Regions from separate parts of the Homo sapiens genome. Here region 2 is linked to region 1. Evidence: promoter capture Hi-C in human tissues and cell types (Jung and others, 2019). All regions are on one chromosome and are shown on one strand. Each heading gives the region's core, a stretch centred on a gene start or on the middle of the fragment in contact. The rest is flanking DNA. Distances are from core to core; before and after follow the strand shown. Region 1 holds the start of ATP8B1 (ATPase phospholipid transporting 8B1). Region 2 overlaps NEDD4L (NEDD4 like E3 ubiquitin protein ligase).

Region 1 (3,149 bases), core at 364-2,863:
GGCTTCCCTCCTTTGGAGTCTGCTGCTCCTTGCATGCCATAACCCAGTCTTGAGAACCTGGCTCACCTTCCATTGCTCCCCTCTCCCAGTCAGTTGCAGGTTGTGGCCACTTCGTGCCCTATCTCTCTTCTGTGGTGTCCCTTGAATTTCCTCCTTTTTACTTCCCCTGGCAACTCCTCCGTATGTCGCTGTCCCAGCCTCTCAAGTGATTCTCCCATCTTCAGTTTTATCCTCTCTAGACTATCTCCCTATTATTTTCCCTAAAACACAACCTTGATCATGCTCATGCTCGGTCCTAAATTGTCAACGGTTTGCAGGTGCTACCAAAAACAAGTCTAAATGTCTTAGATCAACCAGTGTCACCAACAGGCCCTATGTTCTCTTGCATCGGTACCTTTGTTCTGTCGTTAGCTTCAGAATATAAGTGCTGGAAGAGACCATCTGGTCCAATCTCATTTTACAAATGAGGAAACTGAGGCCTGGATAGATTGAGTGACTGACCAGCACCTAGTCAGAGATCAAGTTTGACTCATGAAAAAGAAGCCTAGAGCAGCCTCGGGGTTGGTATCAGACAAGATTCTACCAGTTGGCCACCCGTTGAATACCCTCTCTACACAACTCTGATCCTTAAAGCTGTGGATCTTTGAGTCCCATCAAGCACGGCCTCCTGTAGGAAGCCTCTGTGATGACCCAGTTGGGAGTCTGGACTCTTGGGCATAGATGTGAGCCTCTAGGTGACTGGGAATCGTGTGGGAGTCCTGGCTCCCCTACTGCATTTTAAGCAAACTCTGATCTTTGATTTTCCTCCATTCTTATCCCAACGACTCGGTCCATAGTCGGGGAGCGGCAAAAGTCTACTCAAGAAGGAGGGTAATGTCTATACTGCCAGGGAGGCACGATTCACCCGCTCAGACACCAGCCAGCAACGAGGCGCTGAGTCCAAAATTTCCACCTACACCGCGTGGTTCACGGGCCGCACCTTAACTCCTTTTGACTCCAAACCCAAAAAAACTCGATAGCGTTTGGACTCGGCAGAAAGCCTGCTGGCTGCAATCACAGGATACGTTTCTGGAAGTCTTGAGGCGCAGCCTCTTTCTTCACCCTCCACGCGGCGAACTTTGACGCGCATTCGGTGACCGGTCCCCAAACATGACTTGGCATCAAGAGGACACAGCTCCCCTTACCGAGGGAGCTCAGGTCCCGGGCGCGCCGCGGCCCCGCCAGCTTTCCAGGCTGGCTCAGTCCTCGACCCGGGGTGACGGCCAAGCCAGCCAAGGGCAGCGGGAAAGTGACGCTGGGCTGGAGAGGTGTGGTGGCGAGTGCGGCCCCCGGGGAGCTAAGAGCAGCCGCAGCAACTGGGTCTCAGGCTGGGCGAGGCAAGGGCTCGTAGGCTGGGCTCGGAAGACTGAAAGGGGTGCCCACCTGACTCCAGGACGCACGGAGGGCGTGGGGCAGGAGCTGGACCTGGGCCGCCTCGGGCCGCCCCGGGGCTTGCAGTCCAGCCCCTCTCCGCCCTAGGGAGGGAAAAAGGGAGGGGAGAAGGCCGAGCCCGCCTCCAGCCCCAGCCCCAGCCCCAGCGAGGCTCGGCGGCCGCGGCTGCTGGAGGGAAACCAGAGGCACCTCCCCGAGCGGAGAAACCAGTTTGGCCGGTCCGGCGGAGCGGAGGCAAAAGGGCGGCTGCAGAGGAAGGGTGCACGGACGCGGGGCGGGGAAAGGCGGGGGAGCCACTAGCGAGCCGCGAGAGCCGGAGGTGCCGCCGCCAACTAGACACGCTTCCCCGGGCCCCCGGCCAGCCCCCGTGCGCCATGCAGCGCTAGCGCGGCGGCCAGGGCTGGGGCCGGGCGGGCGGCGGCAGCGGCCAGGTGCGCAGCGAGCGCTCCGAGCGGCGCGCACCAGGCGGATGCCCCAGCCGGGGCCCAGCGAACGCCAGGTAAGCAGGGGTGCGGCGCCGGGGGCCCCCAGACCTTCCCAAGCCCCTTGGCCCGGCGGTGTCCTGCAGGTTCCCTGGCCGCTCCCGCCGCACTTTGGAGATCCGGGATGCGGCGGCAGCAGCTGTCAGCGCCCTCGGACTCCCGAGCCCGCACAGGTGGGATTTGGGTGGAGGTGCTGGGAGCCCCCGAGGCCTCGGGGACGGCGAGACACGGCCGGCTGGGCAGGCAGCGCTGCGGAGAGTTCCGTGGGGTTTTCACCTGCCTAGAGGAGGGAAATCTCGGGGTGTTTGGGTTCTTCGATCGGTAGCGACACACATGTCCGGGGGTTAAGCCAGGTAGGGCTTGCGGCTCCTTGGGGGATGCCGCTGGCTCCTGTGCGGTGGCTACCGCCCCTCTGGAAGACCCCGGTGACCGGGTCCTGCTGGGGCGCTCTTTGGGAGCAGATGCCAACGTGTCCGAAAAGGACTTGCGGGCCAAACGTATCTGACCGCGGCCCACCTGCCGGGAGGGATGGAGGGGGTGAGATCGCTCTCCTCCCCAGCTCCTGTGGCAGGGCCAGGTACTCCCAGACATCTTCCGTGCGCTTTATTGTGGGATGGGGAGGGGAGGTGATGGGGAAGACCGACACCACTGTTTTTCCGGTGACTGTCGGGTCGCGTCCGCCAGCCCCGCTGAGATGGCTGCAGGCATCTCCTTCCCTCAGCAGTTTGGTGCCCTGCGCTGTCACCTCGCTGTGTGCACGAGGAGGGGCAACTTGTTGGGGGGCGCGGGGAGATGTTGCAGAGAATGGCCCAGTGCTTTAACACCCCTCGCCCCCACTTCTCCAACTCCCTCCTTCTCCCCAAAGTGAAAGAAAAGTTCTGAAGTGTCTGCCCAACTTTTCCGACGGAGGCGTGTGCCTGTGGTCCCTGCCGGGGGTTGGTGGCTGGTTGCGGGGGGGGGCGGTGCTCGGAGCGCAGATCCGTGACGGTTGTACGGGGGAGACTGGATTGCAGTAAGGATGCAAATTGGGGAAGGGGGATTGACACGCAGAAGTAAGGAGGACTTGGGCCGCGCTTCTGCCCGGTGAGTACCCGCTCAACCCTACCCGACCCCCTTGGCCTGCACGCGCTGCCCTTGGGGGCTGCAAGCTCTTCCTGGGTAGCTCCAGACGCCGCCGAGTTCCTCTCCCGGAAACTGGCCTCCCTGTTGGCGTGAGAAAATATTCGCTCCCATCTT
Region 2 (3,149 bases), core at 357-2,856, 330 kb before region 1:
ACCGCCACAGTTCCGCTAGATCACAGCCAAATTCCAACAGAGCCCAACACAGCCACAGTTCCGCTAGATCACAGTCAACCAAACCCCAACAGAGCCCAACACCGCCACAGTTCCACTAGATCACAGCCATATTCCAACAGAGCCCAACATAGCCACAGTTCAACTAGATCACAGTCAACCAAACCCCAACAGAGCCCAACACCGCCACAGTTCCACTAGATCACAGTCAACCAAACCCCAACAGAGCCCAACACCGCCACAGTTCCACTAGATCACAACCAAACTCCAGAGCCCAACACAGCCACAGTTCCACTAGATCACAGTCAACCAAACCCCAACAGAGCCCAACACCACCACAGTTCCACTAGATCACAGTCAACCAAACCCCAACAGAGCCCAACACCACAGTTCCGCTCACAACCAAACCCCAACAGAGCCCAACACCGCCACAGTTCTGCTGGATCGCAACCAACCAAATCCCAATGAAGCCACGCGTGTGGACAAGATAAACCCATGACTGCTGAGATCACAAGGTCCCTATCTGAGTTTCTCTGCGACAAATCTTCCCAAAGTTTATTAAGAACACACAGCTTAATGAAATCATTTGTTGATCTCCCACCCACCACCAGCAAGAGTTCTGAAACACATGATTCCTCCAACTCAAGATGGGCCAGAAAGCAAGTAGAAAACCAAGTTGGGTGCTCTATTTTAGTGGAGAAGCTTCCAGAACAGAGGGGCAGAAGATGGCCAACTGAAATGACAGACCATAAGAATTCACTGTGTGTTTCCTCTCTTTTTATCTAATCCCAGGACATGAACACATCTGTACTCAAATTTCAGGACAGTCCACACACTGAGGCCAAATGCAGATGACTTGGTTTCTCCTTCTGAATCCACCGTTGTGTTTTTCTCACACCACTGATAACTGAAAACAGACGAGATGCAAGCAGGCTGAGCAGCAGCAGCCAAGGGTAGGCACGGATGCCTCAGTCAGCCCTTTGTGTCTTGAAGCACGGGCAACTGGCTGGGCAACTTTCTCAGGGCTTCCTCTATCAGCAATCTGGGCTGGACCAGCAGGCATGTAAGTTAAAGAAAATGATAAAGCACAGGCCGCTTTTTTTATTTTAATCTCAAATGCGTGATCTGGATTTCCATTTTGAAAACAAATGCTGGAAAATGTGACCCCTATGCAAGGCCCCCTCCTAATGAGGTCTGCCTGTTATACATGCGTGACAGGCGCTTCATAGCTTGGAACTAACCGCACTGTATTTGATGTGCTCAGCACAGCAGGTGACTGTAGGTAGAAAATCATTAACAGTACCGTGAGCTCGCAGTCAGCAATCCAAAGGCCAAGTTCAACCAGGAAAAATAAAAACCACCACTGCCCTCTACATCCAAGAGACTTCATCTTACACTTCAGGCATTTAAATGTGCTGCTCAACCACAACGCATTAAGCGGGGAAGGGCTTTTAAAAATCCCAACATTTACACACAGAAACAGCAAGCACCATCCAGCCATAGCTGCCTACAAAGCACAGAAGACGTGGCCCCGCCAGGATTTCCAGCATCCGTCCCTGCTACAGGCAGTTGCCAGAGAGAACATAAACAAGGGTATCCAATGGAAGAGGGACAAGGGACAGGATTTACGTTGCACTGTTTATGCTATGGAATCTGTTGTTTTGGGACTCAAAACTTCAAGTTGCCGAGATGCCTGTATAATTGACTCAGAGGCCACGATATGGGCAGCTGGACATACCAATTCCCAGCCAGCCCCATCCAAACTGCCTCAAGGGGAGGGTTCTTTGACCTATTAAGTTTCCTGGGATAAGAAGAACTTTACAACCAGGCACAAGAAGGGATGCTAAAATAAATAAATGAGCACGCTGGGAGGCCGAGGCGGGTGGATCACCTGAGGCCAGGAGTTAGAGACCAGCCTGGCCAATGTGGTGAAACCCCATCTCTACTAAAAATACAAAAATGAGCCGGGTGCAGTGGCGGGAGCCTGTAGTCCCAGCCACTTGGGAGGCTGAGGCAGGAGAATCACTAGAACCCAGGAGGTGGAGGTTGCAGTGAGCCGAGATCGTGCCATCGCACTCCAGCCTGGGCGACAGAGTGAGACCCTGTCTCAAACAAAACAAAACAAAGGAAAGCAAAGCAAAACAAAACAAAACAAAACAAAAAAATTAGCCGGGCATGGTGGCACTGGGCTGAGGCACAAGAATCACTTGAACTGGGAGGTGGGGTTTGCAGTGAGCCAAGATCGTGCCAGCCTCGGTGACAAAGCAGGACTCTGTCTCAAAAAAATAAATAATAAATAAATAAATGTTGATTCTTTTTTTTTTTTTTTTTTTGAGACGGAGTCTCACTCTGTGGCCCAGGCTGGAGTGCAGTGGCACTATGTCCGCTCACTGCAAACTCCGCCTCCCGTGTTCACACCATTCTCCTGCCTCAGCCTCCTGAGTAGCTGGGACTACAAGCACCTGCCACCACGCCCAGCTAATTTTTGGTATTTTTTAGTAGAGATGGGGTTTCACTGTGTTAGGCCAGGATGGTCTCAATCTCCTGACCTCGTGATCCGCCTGCCTCGGCCTCCCAAAGTGCTGGGATCACAGGTGTGAGCCACCGCACCCGGCCGATTTTTTTTTTTTTAAATAAAGGTGAGGTTTCGCCATGTTGCCCAGGCTGGTCCCAAACTCCTGGCCTCAAGCGATCTTCCCGCCTCGGCCTCCCAGTGTGGAGATTACAGGTGTGGGCCACCGTGTCCAGCCTGAAATGAATAAATGAATCATAATGGCAAAGGTATCATCCTGAACCTTCACACAGCCAAAGAATTGTGTTTGTAAACAAATACAGCGCTGCCCACAGAATGTCGTCCTGTGATGACGGGGACGTCCACATCTGCAGCGTCCTGTGGGCAGCCACTAGCCGCATGTGTCTACGGAGCACCTACAATATGGCTAATACCACGGAGGACCTTTCTATTTGTTTTATTTAAGCTCAACTGGAATCTAGCCTGGTGTGGCCAGCACTCCTTTATGGGCCAGTATAGCTCTGGTCCGCCAGGAGGGAGGATGACAGGAGACGGGGTTTGCTATCAGAGAAAAGCAAGAGAGCATGAACAGGTAAGCAGAGAAGAAGGTGACCAAGCC

What was found. Contacts are between HindIII fragments. The study calls those that stand out against the background at their distance.
Region 2: a fragment that was not itself captured here is called in contact with the fragment with the promoter of ATP8B1 in region 1 in 2 of the 25 tissues and cell types used here (heart left ventricle and pancreas).

What each region holds. Positions count from the first base shown.
Region 1 is chr18:57,801,779-57,804,927 of GRCh38, reverse strand. ATP8B1 (ATPase phospholipid transporting 8B1) reads left to right here and starts at 1,613. Exons shown (of 28, transcript NM_001374385.1): 1 at 1,613-1,930. RefSeq lists an enhancer at 1,356-1,993. The HindIII fragment of the contact is 14,543 bases long and covers 1-3,149 here.
Region 2 is chr18:58,127,043-58,130,191 of GRCh38, reverse strand. All of the region lies in intron 1 of NEDD4L (NEDD4 like E3 ubiquitin protein ligase), which reads right to left. Among named protein-coding and RNA genes, the nearest start is that of NEDD4L, 84 kb to the right of the region's middle. The HindIII fragment of the contact is 9,807 bases long and covers 1-3,149 here.